7 separate regions of the Homo sapiens genome follow, and regions 2, 3, 4, 5, 6 and 7 are each linked to region 1. Evidence: promoter capture Hi-C in 16 types of primary human blood cells and fetal thymus (Javierre and others, 2016). All regions are on one chromosome and are shown on one strand. The core of a region is centred on a gene start or on the middle of the fragment in contact, and the rest is flanking DNA. Distances in the headings are between cores, read along the strand shown. Region 1 holds the start of NSUN6 (NOP2/Sun RNA methyltransferase 6). Region 2 has its middle 10 kb from the start of MIR1915HG. Region 3 overlaps MINDY3 (MINDY lysine 48 deubiquitinase 3). Region 4 overlaps PTER (phosphotriesterase related). Region 5 overlaps NEBL (nebulette). Region 6 overlaps C1QL3 (complement C1q like 3). Region 7 has its middle 120 kb from the start of NEBL.

Region 1 (2,616 bases), core at 62-2,561:
CAAAGTTGCTTAGAGGCAGCATGGTAAAATGGAATAGACAACAGGCTTTGCAATCAAAGATAATCAACATTTACTGAGGACTTTAGCAAATAAAATTAACATTTTTTGAGGACTTACATGCCAAAACAATGCTAGTTGTATTCACTTACGTTTAATATCCTAAAACAACCTGGCAAGATATTTTTAACCATTCTCAATTTTTCACAGAAGAGAAAAATCTAGGTTAAGCCACGTAATTTACAAAGCACTAGAATGCAAATCATGTGCCTGAGATTCAAAAGCTGTACCTTTGTTCATTACACCTGAACTCTTTCCCTCCAGATTTCAATAGTTACTTGATAGCTGTGTCAACTTGGATCAGTTACACAATTCCTTGAGCAGTTTTCTGCTCAAGTCTATTAAAAGAGGAAAAACCTCTAAGAAAAAAAAGATTGTGAAGATTAAAGATGCAAATCTCCTAGCACAACTGCTGGCATTTAAGAGGCACTCAACAAATTACAGAAACCTTTTCACCTGAGTGCCAGAGCCAGCGCTCTTTTAAAATTCGATTCGAGTTCTTGAAGACAGGGACCTTTTCTTGTTCATCCTTGTAACCCTTTGTGCCATGCCTGACAGGCACATGCCTTTTTTCCCTTCTTTTCCACTCCTAAATGTTAAAACATATACCTTATTCACTTCGTATCTCAGTAAGCTTTAATACCTGTAGAAACATATTGGTATTTTTACACTTGATAGACAAGTAGTAAGGAACGACGGCTGTCAAGATTTCCCTTTATACTTATTTCTATTTCTCTCGAGTGTGCGAATATTTGAGTTTTTGCAAAATATCAACTAACATCTTTACTTGACCTACCTCCTTATTCATAAAGCCTTCCTTAAGATAGTTTTCAACCTCAGGTCTCAAAGATATCTTAGGGAAAATAGACATTTTTCCTGTTGTTTAGTTCTCCACCAAGAGAAATGCTGGAAAACGGTGTTTTGTTTTTTTTTTTCTTTCCGAATTAATAGTGACGAGTGTCTTGACACCAGATGCTGAGGAAAATCTTGCCGATCACGCTGAGTTAATTTCGGAAATGCAGAGGTACACGCTTTCTCAAGCCTAGCCGATTAGAAGGGGCTGCCGGGCTTCCACCACACCTCATCGAGGCAATGTTTTCTGGTAGAGATGCTCATGGAAATCACTGAGCCAATGCCACTCACGTTGCAAAGAACCAAAAAAAGAAAAAAATGCTTAGTAACTGAATCCGTGGTGAAACGGACGCAGATCAGTAAGCCAGGCTGACAGCAGCTCGGTCCCTTTATCTTTTCTATCAATTTCCAAACACGCGCCCCCTATTTCTCGGCGGAAAGTCGCTTCCGGCTTACGTCACGTCCGGCGCCTGCGGCCCACCCCTCCCTTTCCGGTCCCCCAATCCACAGCCGCAAGTTTCCCCAACACTGCGTTACGCTACGCCACGCCCCCGGAGGTTCCTAACCCTGCGTGAGGCTCTTTCACCTGCCTCAGGTTAAGTAGGCAGACCCCGCGGGCGGGATGGTCAAAGATATTTAGTTCCCGGTACCGGAGGGCTAGGTGCCAGGGGCAATGGGGAAACAGCCAAATGGCGTGGGTTGAGTGGAAGATGTTGCTGGACTGAAAAAAGGCACAGCCCAGTTGCTGTCCTGCCAGATGTCCTCCAGTTAGAGGATGAGGCCAGAATTTGGGCGCATCAGCCACCGTTTGATTTCATGACATGATTTTACCTCTCTCAGGCATACAGATCTGACTTCAGTTGTGAAGTTCATAGGGTTCATATTTTTGAAAGTTGGGCTAATGGTCTGTTAATATCCAATGCTCAGGTAAAACTTAAAACCCACAGACAGTGTTTACAGTTAGTTATAAGGCTAACTGCTACTTGTATCATAGTTGACATATTCTTTAGAGTTTGGAAGACCCTCGCCATTATTTTTTTTTCTTTTTTTTCATCATAAGCAGACAAGGATATAGATTCAAAGAACGAGGATATCTAACCAAACTCACTGAGTCATTTTATAACTGTACAGGAAAGTCAAAATAATTCTATCACCTTGACATATGTTTTTTGCAGCACACCATGGTAATTTACACATAAGTATAGGAAAGGGTTTTTTATTGTTTTTTTCTCTTTAATTTTCACACCGAATTATACACACAGACACACACACATAGAACAGGTACTTTCCATGACACACCAACTCTTTACCAGAAAGAGTAGAAAATAATGAATGACCATTATACCACACAACAACCTGCAAGTTGTTTATCATTTTCTCTGCTCTTTTTTTTTTTTTTTTTTTGAGTCTCTGTCGCCCAGACTGGAGTGGAATGGTGGGATCTCGACTCACTGCAACCTCCACCTCCTGGTTCAAGAGATTCTCCTGCCTTGGCCTCCCGAGTAGCTAAAATTACAGGCATGTGCCACCAGGCCCAGCTAATCTTTGTAATTTTAATAGAGACGGGGTTTCACCATGCTGGCCAGGCTGGTCTCAAACTCCTGACTTCAACTGATCTGACTCTCTAGCCTCCCAAAGTGCTGGGATTACAGGCGTGAGCCACCACGCCCAGCCCATTTTCTCTGTTTTAAAGAGTAAATCAAGGTT
Region 2 (2,616 bases), core at 85-2,584, 2.9 Mb after region 1:
AGCTGCCTCCACTCAGAGCAGCCTCTCTTCCACACGGTGTTTCCTTTCTACTGCTCATCACTTACCACAAGTATTGCGTTTTTCCTGGAGCCAACTTAAACTGATCTTAAAGAGGGCAAGCACTAACAACAGAAATTCCATTTTAACCTCTTGTGCCCTACATGTGCTTCTCCCAGCCTCCAGAATTCTGAGTTTATTTGTTTGTTTGTTTGTTTTGGTGGCTTGAGGAAAAGGAGAGTAAGCTGCCACTCAGATGGTTTCTCTTTTTTTTCTTTTCCCTCCCTTCCTTCCGTGCACTGGGGCTGGAGAAGGCCTTTGCAGAGCTGCCCTCTGCTAGCCTGGTGATATTTTAGGGTCTAAGTCAACTGACTGCTGAGCGTTTTCCATGCAAAAAGGGTCCAACACAAACGTGTTGATGGTAGTGATTAGATGAATAACTGCATCTTACTGGAAGGCCTCTAGACTGCCTGCTACTATCTCTCCACCTTTTTCTTTCTTGTTTCAGTTATCTACCCTGAAGGAAGATCCAGACAGCAGGAATTAAGGAATCAGGGACACTCTGGCATCCTAGGTACTTGGGTTGTTTCCCATATATTCTTTTTAGACTATATACATACACATCTGTGGGCAGCAATCTCTTCTGATTCTCTTTTGGAATCCCTCCCACCCCCCACATACACACCTCTCTGGCCTTAAACATTTCTTGCAACAAGGGGACAACCACTGCCCTTTCCTGCCCCGCCCCCGCCCCCCACACACACCCGGTTAGGCACCAGTCGCCCCGCAGCCATGGCCGCAGCCGGAAAAGAATAGAGAGCTCGCTGTGCTGCAATCCAAGCCGCTCAGCTCTGGGCGAAGAAGACATCGTGGGAGCTAAGCAGTGGCACAGGATAGGGCTGTTCCCTGACCAATAAAGCATTTATTCAGCTGAGCAAACGTTTTCGGAGCACCCAGCATGGCACTGCTAGGTGCTGCTGTTCGGTCCCAGGAAAATAAAGGGAGATGGCAGTCCGCAAGGCGAATGTGAGAGGAGACCTGTACGGAAGCCATCGACAAGAGTTTCACACTACACGTTTTGGGGTCGTGTTTTTCCAAGCAAACCCGAGTGATCTTTAGGGAAAGCCAAATACACTAGACGAAAACATCCTGTTATGAGAGGCAGGGACGGTGGAAGCACAGCTATCTGAGAGTGCGTTAATCAGTCAGGATAGGGGCTTGGAAGCCCAGGGCTTGAATTTGGTGAATTCGTGCAATTTGGAGCATTTCGACTTAGTATTGATCCCTAAACTCAATTTTGAAAACAGCCTCCATTGCAGAAGTGTGGGTTGTGTTATCCCAGTATTTGCATGCATCGATTGGACTAAAATAAAATGCATCATACTCTCTGCAAAGAAGGAAGAGGCAGGGACAATCACAAGAGGAATAGCAGAAAGTGCATAGTTAATATGGGTTGTACGCGAATCCGTGAAACAAGTGCCTTAAACCCAGGGGGATTTCACGTAATAGCTAATTTGGTGAGAGCTAGCGCGCAAGCAAGCAGAGGGCCATCTTAGAAGGGAAGGAAGATAGCTGAATATAGGCTTTTCCTACTGGAATTAACATTTCCTTGTGATTTGCATTAGCTAATGTCTAAACCCTCACATGCAGCCCACCTAACCCAGGTTTTCTTCTACGCTTGTAGGCTCAGTAAGGAATTGTCTTCCTTCTAACTGCACTGCCAGAGCTCAGGGGCTGCGGAGAGGCGGCTGCTGCTTTTCCCCCGACCCACTGGGTCCTAAGTGCCGGGAAAGGCCGCAGGGCAGATGCTGGGGAGGCGCTCTCCGCTTGTCCTCTCCCGGCCTGCAGGACCCCAACGGGTTCTCTCCTCAAAGTTAATCCGAGGAATCCAGCGCCTGCCTGGTTTTGCCCATACCCTTCTCAGGTCCCAACTGGGAGGAAAGGGAACTGGAGGAGATGGGAAAAGGAGATAGGAATATTTTATCTTAAAGAAGACATTCTTTTTCCTTGTTCAACACACAAAACCAAAACCCCTTCCTCTTATTTCTCCCGTCTTCCGATTCCATTTTAGTTTCTAATGGAGACTGTGTGTGTGTGTGTGTGTGTGTGTGTGTGTGTGTGTGTGTGTGTGTGTAAGAGGGAGAGAGAGGGAGAAAAAGAGAGGGCGAGAGGGGGAAAAGAAACAGGGGGTTAGAGAAAGAAGAGAGAGATGGAGATCCCTTTAAACAAAAGACAAGAGGCCTGAGCTGGGGCCTGGAGCTGTCCCCGGAGCCTGCTCTGCCCCGCAGACCCTGCGGTCTCCAGGCCCGGTAGGCTTTTTCAGGTTCCGCAGGCCTGGCCGAACCGGCCAGATCCCGCGTTCCAAGCGTCTGGAGAACTGGAGACAAAGCCCAAGATCCAATCCCACCGCAGAGCGGCTCAAGCCGGCGCCCGGGACCCGCGGGCCTAGGCGCGACCCCCAGCAGCCTGTGACCGAAGAGGGGAGCCCGGGACCCCTCCGCCTCTCCGCAGCCCTCTCGGGCGGGGTCCCCCAGGCCCGCCCGGTTCCCCCTGCCGCACTCAGCCAGCTGCTTTTGGAGGCCTGCGAGTTCCAAACACGCCTTCCCATTAATTAAAACC
Region 3 (2,616 bases), core at 67-2,566, 2.8 Mb before region 1:
CACTGGTGAGTTAAGAAAATTGATTCATTATGAAGTCAAAATTTTAGATTTTTATTTACAATTTAAAATGTCACATTATGCTAGCTTTCCAAAGCCTAGTTGTGAGTGTTTCATATTTCGTTTTAAAATCTTTAGCAGTCCAAATGTATTAAGTTATTTCTTGGTTTATGTGGGAAACAAACTGAAATTGAACCTGAGTATTCACTACTGCGAACAACTGTGCATTACCAACAAGCCAAAACTATACACACCACATAAGCCAATGAAATTAATGTTTGTAGAGAAAGTAATATTAACAAGAGGGGAAAACACTTTACATTAAAACTTTCAGAAAATGAAAATTCTACCTAATCTTTTCCAAATTATACTGCTTGTTCTGCAACATTAGATTATCTAAATAGTTTTACTGGGTATACTACAAGAGTAGACATAAAGATAATAATTTAGAGAAAAGAGGCAAGCAAAATAAAAAGCTTAGCAGGCAGGGATGGTGAAAAAATATAAAACACAAGAAAAAGAACAAAGCTGGGAATAAAGGAAAGAACAGGTAAAATAGATTGTTACACGGAATAAAAATTGTAATATAAATACAGTTCATTTGTCACTAAGGTAAATTCTCAAATTTTCAGTTAACAAAGTATTTCAAATGTATACATTATTTAAAAAATTTAAAATATGGTTTACTTCATGGCAACTTTTAAAATGAGATACAAAGTAAACTGGAAAAATTACTAAAATGTTTTCTGGAGGGTAATTCAATATAATATGCCCATCTAAATTAGTTACTGAAGTACCAAAGGGAATGCATTATAAGGCCCTTTAACCTATAGCAACGTGACGTATCACCACAGAACTGCATAGCATATTTCATAGTATGCACTCAGTATACTGTTAAGATACTAATGGAAAATGTTATATAAAAAGATCTTACTATTTTCTCACATCAATATACAGACTGGCTTTAAGCACAAAATCTTTAAAATACCTTTTCAAAAGATCAACAATTCCTCTTTCAAAATTTTAATATCCTAAATGAACCTATTAAGTGTGCTAACACCCACACAGTAAAACCTGGAGAATATGTTAAAACCAATCTTAGTGACACTTTGGACTAGCATCCTTGTGACTGTTTTCCACTTGTTGTCTTCAAATGTCATTATAAACTCTAAAATATGTTAAGTTCTTTTTGAAAGGCCATATTTCAAAGGCTTCAAAAGGAAGCATCATATAGCTGTTCAAATGTTCAAAATTATTCCTTGCAAATGTTACTACTATTAGAATTTGCCAGGCTTAAGGCATTTTAACTGCAGAGGTAGGAGAAAAAAGACACTGACAACACAGAGGCATTTTAGTCCAGGGAGGCAACAGCACCTTATAGATAATACTATATGGAAAGCAAAATGTGTATCCCATACAATTGAAGTGTACTTTCAGGTACGTAATCTCTTTACGAAAACTTTCCACAAAGATGATAGTTAATGTGATGCTCTGTGGGTAGAATAAGTCACTTATTTAACATAAGCACTTGGGACTACCAATTATAAAAAACCATCAACTAGCAAGATTATTCCTGAAAAGCAAATCAGAAAAGCAACTCTTAACTAGCTTCCGTACCACTAGCTGTCTCCATTTCACACTGGCAGCTTTCGGGTCAATTACATAACAATTTTCAAAAGTTAAAAACCACAGAATATATAATTTTTATGAATAATGAGAATAGCTATTATTTAACGTAAACAGCTATTATTTAACTTATCTTCAAGGTATGAAAAACTTAAGGCATAATTAAAATTGCCTTAAAATAATCTATATGTATAAAAATATCCAAATAATTCGGAAAGAAAAGAAACAGCTTGCAATGAGGAGAAATGTCCCCATCTTTGCTCTGGGAAGCAAGTAAAGATAACTTTATGAAATCTTCTGATGTCCAAAAAAATCCGTTTTTGCAATACCAAAGCAAAACATTAAGGCATCTGAAACTGAAGCATATCATTATTTCTAAATAAGAGTTCTAAAGCTCAAAAGAGATTATTATCAAGCAGAAGTTAACCAGAACATTTTTAAAAGTTTAAGAGATGCATTTTTTTTTGCAAAAATGTAGTATCTTCTAAGTAGTTAAAATAAATGATATGGAAATAAAAAATAGTGAGGCTCAGTAATTAAGCTTAAGCTGGAAAAGAATACATGTTATGAAAATTTTAAGTAATTTTTTCTTCAAAATATTCAATAGATTCATTAAAACAAAGGAACAAGAAAAAAACTTCAGGAAATAAAAATATATCTTACAAGAATGTTCCACTTGGCAACTAGACTCTGCAGGACTCCCAGAAATACTAGCAGTTTCCTCAGTTGTCTTTCCTCTTAACCATGAAACCAAGCAGTATGATCCAGAGTGGTCACAACAAGCACTTTCTAAAATATCACACAAGGTATGACAAAGGAGTTCCTTCTGCTCTTCCTCTAAAAATAACCAAAGCATAAGTTATAATGGTTTCCTCTGGAAAAAAAAAAATTCTGTCATGAATAACAATAGTAAGAATGGGTTAATGATGAAAATCAAGCATTTTAAAAATGGGGGAAAAATCTCTAAATAGATTTTAAATTATGTCTTAGAAA
Region 4 (2,616 bases), core at 59-2,558, 2.2 Mb before region 1:
ACATGTCTCATCTCCTACATTCTTGCATATCTGAAAGGTTAGATGTTATCAGTCTTGCTCTCTAACAGTTTGGAGGACAGATAAAGCCCGACCATGTAATTGAGAAATTGAAATAAAGATTTATTTGGTCAGAGCCCATGCCCTGAGCTGTCATCTGATTGCCATCAGAATTTGTTTAAAAGTGTTAGGTTGGCCATGCACGGTGGCTCATGCTGTAATCCCGGCACTTTGGGAGGCCAAGGCGGGAGGATTGCTTGAGCTCAGGAGTTCAAGACCAGCCTGGGCAACAGTGAGACTCCCATCTCTATTAAATAAGTAAATAAGAATTAGGTTGACTTGCATGTGCCTGGCCAGCTCTTTTGACAGATTTTCTTCTCACTTTATAAATTCAGAGCCTGCAGGCCAGGCGTGGTGTCTCATGCCTGTAATCCTAGCACTTTGGGAGACCAAGGCAGGCGGACCACTTGAGGTCAAGAGTTCGATACCAGCCTGGCCAACATGGCGAAACCCCATCTCTACTAAAAATACAAAAATTAGCCAGGCATACGTCTGTAAGTCCAGCTACTCAGGAGGTTGAGGCAGGAGAATCGCCTGAACCCGGGAGGCGAAGGTTGCAGTGAGCCAAGATTGTGCCACTGCATACCAGCCTGGGTGACAGAGTGATACTCTGTCTCAAAAACAATAAAAATAAGATGAAATAAAATGTAGAGCCCCCAGGTGTAATTAAGGGCCATTTCTGTAGCTTAGATTAGATGACCTTGATTACTCACTATGTTTGTCTTCCTAGGGCTGCCATCACAAAATACCACAAACTGGGTGGCTTTAACAACAGACATTTATTTTCTCACAGCTCTGGCAGCTGGAAGTCCCAGATCAAGGTGTCAGCAGTGTTGGCCTCTTCTGAGGTCTCTCTCTTTGGCTTGTGGATGGCCGTCTTCCCTTTTATGCATGTCTGGGTATTGATCTTTTATAGGGACACCAGTCCTATTGGATTGAGACCTACCCTAACAACCCCCTTTTAACTTAATTACTTCTGTAAAGACTATCTGCAAATACAACCACATCCTAAGGTGCTGAGGGTTCGGGCTGCAACAGACAAATTTTGCAGGGAGATACAACTGAGCCCAAAATGCTCCACTGCAATAGTAATGGTCTGTTTGGAAGCTACTGTTTTTGGAGTTATTTTCTTTGATTGTTAAATTTGACCTTCCAAGTGATGACTACACATCTTTGGAGAATCTCCTCAGTTCAGGAACTTCTTTTTAACTAACATTACTTGGAGGAGAGCTTAATGCTCGTGACTTTAAACATTTATGTAATTAGGTAAAAAGGGAAGCAACATTATTAAATGACTTGGATAGAGTTCATCAAGCAGTTAAGAAAAAAATGTACATAATCAAGCGTACCTTGCAGTCTGAATGACAAACATCCAAATATTTGCTGTAACAACTCGCACATATTTTTACCAAAAATTTCCTCTCCGAATCAGAAACTTACTATGATGAGTCCATGTACTTACGTGTACCATCAAAAAGGGCCAGAGGATCGCTAGAGTATGCTGTGGTCCTATCTGCTCTTTCTATAAAGTGGTATCTTGTGCTCATCTTGCTTAAATATGTTGTGTCTTACAATTATCACGATACTATCAACTGAAAACAGAAAGGTCTGTGAGAAAAGATGTGAGCCTAGGAAGCTAAAAACTTTTTCTTTTTTTTTTTTTTTTGAGATGGAGTCTCGCTCTGTTGCCATGCTGGAGTGCATTGGCGCGATCTCGGCTGACTGCAACCTCTGCCTCCCGAATTCAAGCGATTCTCCTGCCTCAGCCTCCCGAGTAGCTGGAACTATAGGCACGTGCCACCATGCCCAGCTAACTTTTATATTTTTAGTATATTTTCAGCATGTTGGCCGGGATGGTCTCAATCTCTTGACTCGTGATCTACCCGCCTCGGCCTCCCAAAGTGCTGGGATTACAGGCATGAACCACCGCACCCGGCCTCTTTTCTTTTTTTTGAGACGGTGTCTTGCTCTGTCACCCAGGCCGGAGTGTGGTGGTGATCATAGCTCACTTGAGCTTCTGGGCTAAAGCGATCCTCCTGAGTAGCTGGATTACAGGTGCTCAATACCTCAATACCACGCCTGGTTTTTTTTTTTTGGACAGAGGACCTACAGGGAACTTTATTCTCGTGCTTTTGTCTTCACTGGGGCACTACCCCTCGGGAAGACCAGGTTGGCTCCTGGCACAGGGATGCACCTGGTTAATTTAAAAACATTTTTTTTTAGAGATGGGGTCTCACTCTGTTGCCCAGGTTCGTCTCCAACTCCAAGGCTCAAGTGATCCTCCCACCTCGGCCTCCCAAAATGCTAGGATCACAGGCATGAGCCACCACAACCAGCTAGCAAAGCTCTTATATTCAAAGAAATATTGGGGAATGTGAAGGCACAGAAGGCCTCAGTTTGACATTATCTGTCCATATCTATAATGCATACTATCTTTGCTTCTGACGAGCTTTTACAATGTTCCCTCAGAATAGAATAATAGGGTTTTTTTTAATCCTTAAAAGAATCTTACGTAGTAAATTGGTAGTCAGAAATATTAGAGGGTTGTTACATGGGTAT
Region 5 (2,616 bases), core at 80-2,579, 2.2 Mb after region 1:
ACTTCAAAATATACTTTTTTTATGTCCTGAAATTAGGTCCAGGAGATAGTTGTGTAACTGTAAATTATACTAGAAACCATTGAATTGAACACTTTAAATGGGCAAACTTTATGGTAGGTAAATTACATCTGATAATATAATTTTTAAAACACACATTTTTAAAAACACAGCTTTAAAAACACACTTCTTTTCATATCCTTTATGACAGGCAAACAGACCAAATTTTGTCTTAGAATTAATTGGAAAGAAGTCTACACAAATATCTTTCACACTATGAGTTTACAGTAGTCACGTTAGAAATAAAGACACACCAGAAAAAGTCACTGAGAAAAATCATTTTATTAGACTAAATGTTTCCACTGCATTTCAGTGTGATTAGAAATGCCCCTCCCTCAAAAGACAAGCCAACCACATTTCCATGCTTTGTTAGTTATCGGATTAATAGTGAAGTAATGCCATCCGTGCACTGGATCCGCCCATTCCTTAGCATGTTTTAAGAATGATCTGGTTGGACCCTACCATTGAAATATGATTTTGTGCTTCTTTAACATGTCTCATAGCAGGTGTATCTAAAATCAGACTTGGTCTACCTTTCATCTGTTTATGGTCCTGGGTATATTTTACCTGCAAAGTAAATAGTAGGCATAAGACAATGATAAGAAAACACATGATGTAACATTTTTAAGCTTTACAAATGAGTGAAACATATGCAACATACTTGAAATTATTTTCCAGGTAACTATTTCAGTGAATTAAATTTTGTTCTAGAATAGCAACCTAAAATTTTACAATCAAAGATCTCCTCCACCGCCTACTGCTAAATGACCTAAATCTATCAACTCTAAACAAATGTGTGAATGACCAATAGTAACTATCTATCTAGTCTGTAAACCTGCGCAAGCCCGAGGACTCGTATCTGTAATCACAGCACTTTGGAAAGCTAAGGTGGGAGGATGACTTGAGGCCTGGGATTTGAGACTAGGCTGGGCAGCACAGTGAAACCCCCCATCTCTACAGGTAAAAATTAAAAAAAAAAAAAAATTAGTTGGGCGTGTGCCTGTAGTCCCAGCTACTTGAGAGGTTAAGACAAGACAGCTGCTTGAGCCCAGGAGTTCAAAGCTGCAATGAGCTATGATTGTGCTATTGCATTCCAGCCCGGGCAACAGAGACTGTGTCTCAAACACACACATACACACATACACACACACACACACACACACAACTGGTTATCATATTTAAGTTAAACAGAGAAAATCCAAAACTATTAAATAGAACCCAAAGTTATTTTGTTTCTAAATTTCCCAATTTTCTACCATAAGAGTGTTAAAAAATGCATACAAGCTACTCTATTTCTTTTTATTTTTTTCTCTGCTTAGGGAATAAGAAACAATGAGGAACAAATTTAGTTGTTCTTCTAAGCAGCCACAACTTAAAGGTAATTTATGTTAAATACACACAGCATCTCTGGACAGAAATGTCACTAGGAAGCTGTAAATTGCAAAGCCTAAATGCTGATTCTCAGGCAAACAGCTATTCAGGGTATGCTAAGAAAAGGGCCTGTGTTCTTCACAACTGCCCATCAGAACACCGCCATTTATGAAACTGATTAGGTGTAAGATATGGATACCACTTACTGTGGACCTGAGGGCATTATGTACAATTCAGAATTGAAGCCCTGATATTCACTAAGAGGAAGCACAATATTCAGATAAGATACTCATGTACACCACTGGACTTTGGTGAGCAACTGAATTCTACGTTAACTGTATTTAAGGATTCTTTTCTGTAAGTCTTTAGTGGGGGTAATGATCCATCTCCTATTTTGTTTTGCAGACAGCATTTAACAATCCATGTTCAATGAAATATTTCAGGAAAATGACAATTATTTAACGCACACATCAAAGGCTTTACCACCTTCAAAGACACGGCTAACATATCATGAATCGTTGTTTAAATGAATATAATTTTAACCTAAGCTTTGAATGTAACTGTTGGTCACATCTGGAAATAACAAAGAGTTGCAAAATAATGTAAATGTTTGCAGTGGCAGCTTTTGGAAGTCATCTGAAATAACACATGTACTTATTGGACACATCACAAATGTTTCTTGAAAATAAGTTTTATTTTCACAAGCAAAGGAGGACCGCAAGTAAATAATAAAAGACACATCCTTTGTGATAGTCTAAAATGAAGAAAACCACTTGCCGAGCTAATATTTTCTTGATTCTTCTTCACTCTTTCCATTTCAGGAGTTACACTTAAAGTGGTAGCTCTTCCCAGCTGACCTCTGTAATAAACCTATCATTTCAGAGAACAAAAAATAGAATACTATGAATCAATTCAACAAAGAGACTTATTTATTTATTTAAGACAGGGTCTTGCTCTGTCACCCAGGCTGAAGTGCAGTGGTACAATCTTTGCTCACCACAGCCTCGATCTCCCAGGCTCAGGCAATCCTCCCACCTCAGCCTCCCAGGTAGCTGGGATTACAGGCACCTGCCACCATGCCTGGCTAATTTTTGTATTTTTGTAGAGATTGAGTTTTGCCATGTTGTCCAAGCTGACCTGAAACTCCTGGGCTCAAGTGATCCACCCACCTCAGCCTCCCAAAGTGCT
Region 6 (2,616 bases), core at 81-2,580, 2.1 Mb before region 1:
AGTAGTATCTTTAAAGTGTCTTTCTGGGTATCACATAGCAAAAGGAGAAAATGGCTTAAAGGATTTAGAATTGCTTAACGCTGTACTAACAGGCACTAATATAATGAAAGCAATATACCATGTAATTATGCTTGGAAGCACTGACTCCAATATATATGCCAATTTAGTAAAGTGGTCCGTTTTGACCATTAAATAATGACGCAGTTTGACTTCATAATATTTTCTAAAGATTAATCATGAGTTTGTAGGAGTTGAATGCTTTGATTCATTAATTTCATCTAGCCATTAATTCCCAGGGAAACAAATCTACAAGAAGGATATTGCTATTATGACTTGTGTTTTTTTCTCATCTTTGGATTTTTAATGGTGAAAAAAATTAAAAACAAAATATTCATGAGCTATATTAGTAATACATTAGTTATCAACCCATAATATACTCCTCAGCTATTACTAATAACCAGACATATTTTATTCAGTGCTTTGGGTATTTAGGACATGTTCTATGGTTACTGGGCTTTAACATGGTTTTCTACATGAAGGTATTGGAGAAACAGGACATACTAAAATTACTTGATTTAGACACAATAATCCTTTTAAAAATATAATGCCATTTTTATTCTCCAGGGTGTAACCACAAAACCGAGTGAACGTCACCATTTTTATTCAGTAGGCGTAACCACAAATTCCTGCGAATGCATTAGAGTGATTCCACAGACTGAAAGGTTACCCTCACAGTTTCTACCACCTTTGTTGGATCAAGCCAGTGTGGTTGCTTTTTAATGAATGTAATTCTGTAAGATTTTAACCTATACTGTACCGTAAGACTGTCCCAATTAAATAATTGCCATACTCCAGTGTACCTGGCATGATTTTGGTATGGCTGCTCACCTGATCCTACTCTAAAGATATAACAGGACTTGAAATTTCAAGCTCTAGTATTCAGCTCAGTGACTTCAACAATTCTTTCAAGCCATCAAACTATTGAGGAAGGCAATGTGTTCACCCTGGAGGCTGTTTCCAGATTCCTAAATGTACAGTGATTTCAGCATTCTGTCTGGGAATAAGATCCATCCTTCCTTCAGCGCAATCAACCGATTTCTACCTGAATTTACTCTAATATCTTTTCTTATTACAAGATAACTATTTAGATTCTGCTTTATGTTTAGTCCGTATTTCTTTAACCCTAAAAAGATTATGAATTTGACATGTCATTGATCTCTCTAATAAGCGAATACCAACCCACAAACCACTCATCCTTTTAAAAATATTTCATGGGCATCGGTGCCATAACTAATAAATTTTTAAGAGTACCAACTGGTCTTTAATTATTTTATGCTTTTAATCCTGAAACAGTATTAGTTTTCATTCGAGTGGCTTATTTATTATAGTGGCATTAGAGTGATTGTATTCAAATAGCAATTTTTCTTCATGTTTTCTGCTAAAAGGATTATCAACATTAAAGAGATTTCCTCTTTCCAAATGTAAAGCTATTTGAGTTGAACTTTTACCTTTAATATGCACTGTCATGGGCTTTCAACAAATGGTAGGATTAAATTTAGGTTGATGGCTTCATGGGGAGTATGAGAGCTGCGGTCATTTTAGGGATATGTTTCTGTGTCTGCAATAGGTTTCATAGTTTTAGCATTATCTTATTAGTGAGGATCTATCATTAGAGATCATATTTATGGTGACATTTGTAATTTAATTAATTGCTACTGATGTTCTCGTAATTTCATTTTCATTGTACTTCTGTGGAATCATAAACAAAAGGTTAAGTGGCACATCAGGTTAATTTACTGGTCTTTGATGTTTCCATCTGTGATCTTACATTCTACACAAAGTATAAATAAAATGGCTCTCATATGGTTACAGTCCAGAAGCATTTCTCTCTCTTAGAGGGAACTGCATTTTTAGTTTAATTTTTGTGCTTCTCAAAATCCACTTAATCCATAGAACATTACACTGACATGGATCTCTGAGTTTCTGTTTTATGAAAAATTAAGTCAGCTCAGAGAGGGAACCTGCCATTCTAAGAAGTGATCAGACCAGAATATAATTGAAAAGCAAGAGTGAAGTATTATTTAAAATTAATAAAAAGATTTTAAAAGATTTCTCATTTGTAACTGCCTGCAGACTGGACTTGACAAAATAGTTCTAATCTAGAGATAAAATTCCTTAACTGTAGTAGTGTAGTAACCATTTTCCAAAATAGTCCACACTGAACTAAAAAAAAATGTTTACCACTATAGATTTATTTTTCTGAATTACCTGTTGCATACCTTTTGCAGAAGTAGCAGCTTAATATTACCAATGAAAAGACTTATACATTATAAGGTCAGCTGTTTTACCTTACTATTTTTCCTGATCCTCATGGAATGTGTGTGCTAGTGTGATACAAAGGAAGATTTTACACCCCAAACAGTGAAATAATTTTAAAAACAAAACGCACATAGAACACCTACATGGTGTTATTTTCTTCAAATCAGTGTAATATACACAGGCTCAGCAGTCTAGACATCAACATTTAAACTAATTTAAATGTATTAATCCCTTCTTTTTTCATGCAATTGCAATTTCCAGATATTTAAAGATGTGAGCATTTTTACACATTTGCTG
Region 7 (2,616 bases), core at 64-2,563, 2.1 Mb after region 1:
CACAATGTTAAATGGGTAAAAAGTACAAAAAGTTTCTATAAGTATTGCTAAAAATGTATGCATGTGTGTAAAAATACTCTGGAAAAATATTCATCAACACCCACAATTCCTGATCATGAATCTCCCCACGTATTTTTTTTTCTTCTCTGTACTCTTCTGAATGTTCTCCAGTAAGGCGGGGTTACTTTAAGTAGAAAAGCAACACATCATTTTAAAAATGGAAAAATAAGCCAGGCACGTGTCTCACACCTGTAATCCCAGCACTTTGGGAGGTCGAGGTGGGTGGATTGCTTGAGTCCAGGAGGTCTAGACCAGCCTGGGCAACATAGTGAGACCCTACCTCTACAAAATTTTTTTTTAAAATATCAGGCAGGCATGGTGGCACACACCTGTAGTCCCCACTACTCAGCGAGCTGAGATGGGAAGATCACTTGAGCCCAGGAGTTTGAGGCTGCAGTGAACCATGGGCACACCACTGAACTCCAGCCTGGGTGACAGAGTGAGACCCTGTCTCAAAAAAAAAAAAAAAAAAAAAAAAATGGCATGGGAAGGAAAGAAAAGGAAGGACAAAAATGAAGCACACACACTTGAGAAAGGGACGATCTATTGCAACATGCCACAAATCTGCCTTACAGGCCCTAGTCTGAGCCCTGCTGGCATCATGTGTAGCATCACATGTGGAAGAAATATGTATTAGATGTTTAAGAAATCCAAGTTAAAATGCCATTAAAAAAACAGATGAGAAGTCCCAAGGCAATCTAACTGCCCAGTCTACAAGAGGACCAGATGGCAGCCTAGAGCGCCATACTATACTCTACTTGGGAAAAGGAAGTACTGGACTTGGAACAGGAGAAGATATTCTGACTTCCTATCCATCCCGTGAAGACCTTGTTCTTCTTTTATCTTAATTTGCAGGTGCAGAGTCTTAAAGAAAATGAGACACTGACTTCCTGGCCTGAGATAGGAGAGTCTAGACTCCATGAAGACTTCTGCTACTCCAAAGCATCCTTGCTGTGGTTTGGGTGATCAAAGTCAGGCCACTGCTTGGGATCACGCTCCTCAGGGCATATAGCTGGGCTGATGACCCTACTGGGACATTAAAGGAAAAAGAAGGGCAGCTTCAGACAGGCGCTCATTCCTGTCCTCCGTGTATTAGGTAGATTTGGAGTATAGCATGGGAAGCAGAGTGGGGGACGGAAGGGACACAACGGCAAAAGACAGAGAGGGGAGCTGGGGTTTTATCTGCCCTTCAAATCAACTGCCATTTGACTAAGTTCCCAGTTGGCTCAGGTCCTCGTCTTCCAATCTGTAAAATGGCACACTTATGCGATGTCCTCCTGAAGGTGGGGGTGGACTAAAGCTCCCCGACTGCCTGAAAACCCGTGAGTCTGAGTAATGTGCCTGGAAGTGGAGAGATACTGCCGGCTGAAACTCATCTGCCTCAGTAGTATTCAGCAGAAAACAGAGGGTCTGCTCAGTTTCCCTCTGACTTCCGTAAGTTTCTCAAACATAAAAAAAAAAAAAATCGACAAATGGCTGAGGAATCATAGAATCCCAAAATCAAGGAATGTATCCCTTGATACATTCCATAACGCATGAAGTCAATTTTCAGCATTTTCCCAGTGCTTTCTAAATCAAGAAAGGCTAAGCTACAAAACAGAGTGCAGCATTATTTTGGAGACATCACTAAACTGCAAAGGCATGAGAAAATAAATAAGGACGACCTGCGGAGATTCTACTTCCTGATTCTGAGATAATTATTATTAATAAGTAAGGAATAATAACTTCCTGATCCTAAAATAATTTTGAAAGATACATTTCTGCTTGAAACTAAAACTTTGACTTTTTCACCGAAGTGAGATATTCGGAGTTTCAGGTCTGCCTTGGCTTCAAATGTTTTCTTCCTTCTCTTCTCTGCCAAAGATGATCCCGTCCCACAGATAATCACTTACCTGTCAGGGTCACCTTCGGCATTAAGGCTTCTCACTTACTGCTAAGCCCCATCCTCCCCAGTGGATCATAATCCAGCTCTTTGATCTGTGCATGAATATCATTAAATTGACTGTCAAATTCTTAAAGGTTATGTATATTATGAAACTACTATTGAAGTGTCTCAGTGACAATCAAGTAACTTATATCAAGACCAGAAGCCCTGTTCAAAGCTCTGAAAATGTTTTAGTGTTTTCCAAACATGAAACCTTTGAATGATCCTAAGAGGCTGCACAATATAATTATAGTTCTTATACCATAAATATGTTTTGTTTGCCGGTTTTGAAAATAAATCATCCCAGGGACCCAACCTCCTACCCAACCTCCACGTCTTTCTAGGATGTAAATCACAGAAGATGGAAAAATCCCCCCTGGGCCTGCTTCTTGTTTTTCCAGCTAGAGGTTGGTTACAGGTAAAAGCCACATTGAAGTGCTGGAGCTGTGGCCCAGACACTCCTGGAAGGAGGCTTGGCAGGTGAAATGCACAAAACAAGTTTATCCTGCAAGATTTTCAGGCTCCTTTCCTCCCAGTCCCACTGAGGTGAACATAAACAGTGGAAATATGACTTGTGAATAAATCCTGAGTTACAATATAGATGTGACACTATAGTTAGATCATAAGAGCTA

Evidence for each region. Contacts are between HindIII fragments. The CHiCAGO score rates a contact against its expected background, and 5 or more counts as called.
Region 2: a contact is called between a fragment that was not itself captured here and the fragment with the promoter of NSUN6 in region 1, in 2 of 17 cell types (total CD4 T cells and M0 macrophages). The highest score is 6.7, in total CD4 T cells.
Region 3: a contact is called between a fragment that was not itself captured here and the fragment with the promoter of NSUN6 in region 1, in 6 of 17 cell types (total CD8 T cells, activated CD4 T cells, M2 macrophages and 3 more). The highest score is 15.7, in total CD8 T cells.
Region 4: a contact is called between a fragment that was not itself captured here and the fragment with the promoter of NSUN6 in region 1, in 7 of 17 cell types (naive CD4 T cells, activated CD4 T cells, non-activated CD4 T cells and 4 more). The highest score is 9.4, in naive CD4 T cells.
Region 5: a contact is called between a fragment that was not itself captured here and the fragment with the promoter of NSUN6 in region 1, in 1 of 17 cell types (endothelial precursors). The highest score is 7.5, in endothelial precursors.
Region 6: a contact is called between a fragment that was not itself captured here and the fragment with the promoter of NSUN6 in region 1, in 1 of 17 cell types (non-activated CD4 T cells). The highest score is 5.6, in non-activated CD4 T cells.
Region 7: a contact is called between a fragment that was not itself captured here and the fragment with the promoter of NSUN6 in region 1, in 2 of 17 cell types (M2 macrophages and M0 macrophages). The highest score is 8.5, in M2 macrophages.

What each region holds. Positions count from the first base shown.
Region 1 is chr10:18,650,276-18,652,891 of GRCh38, forward strand. It overlaps NSUN6 (NOP2/Sun RNA methyltransferase 6), which reads right to left and starts at 1,312. Exons shown (of 11, transcript NM_182543.5): 1 at 854-1,312. The coding sequence starts at 928. RefSeq lists an enhancer at 1,452-1,551. The HindIII fragment of the contact is 3,002 bases long and covers 690-2,616 here.
Region 2 is chr10:21,506,441-21,509,056 of GRCh38, forward strand. No RefSeq gene overlaps it. Among named protein-coding and RNA genes, the nearest start is that of MIR1915HG, 10 kb to the left of the region's middle. The HindIII fragment of the contact is 3,213 bases long and covers 1-2,616 here.
Region 3 is chr10:15,839,140-15,841,755 of GRCh38, forward strand. MINDY3 (MINDY lysine 48 deubiquitinase 3) reads right to left here. Exons shown (of 15, transcript NM_024948.4): 4 at 2,287-2,460. The region is part of intron 2 of LOC124902383 (a long non-coding RNA gene); the gene reads left to right. Among named protein-coding and RNA genes, the nearest start is that of MINDY3, 20 kb to the right of the region's middle. The HindIII fragment of the contact is 1,691 bases long and covers 472-2,162 here.
Region 4 is chr10:16,442,298-16,444,913 of GRCh38, forward strand. All of the region lies in intron 1 of PTER (phosphotriesterase related), which reads left to right. Among named protein-coding and RNA genes, the nearest start is that of PTER, 6.6 kb to the left of the region's middle. The HindIII fragment of the contact is 8,086 bases long and covers 1-2,616 here.
Region 5 is chr10:20,813,420-20,816,035 of GRCh38, forward strand. NEBL (nebulette) reads right to left here. Exons shown (of 28, transcript NM_006393.3): 22 at 2,206-2,298; 23 at 520-624. Among named protein-coding and RNA genes, the nearest start is that of NEBL, 83 kb to the right of the region's middle. The HindIII fragment of the contact is 1,290 bases long and covers 685-1,974 here.
Region 6 is chr10:16,516,092-16,518,707 of GRCh38, forward strand. All of the region lies in intron 1 of C1QL3 (complement C1q like 3), which reads right to left. It also overlaps a transcript of PTER not described here. Among named protein-coding and RNA genes, the nearest start is that of C1QL3, 4.5 kb to the right of the region's middle. The HindIII fragment of the contact is 4,225 bases long and covers 1-2,616 here.
Region 7 is chr10:20,773,392-20,776,007 of GRCh38, forward strand. No RefSeq gene overlaps it. Among named protein-coding and RNA genes, the nearest start is that of NEBL, 120 kb to the right of the region's middle. The HindIII fragment of the contact is 4,812 bases long and covers 1-2,616 here.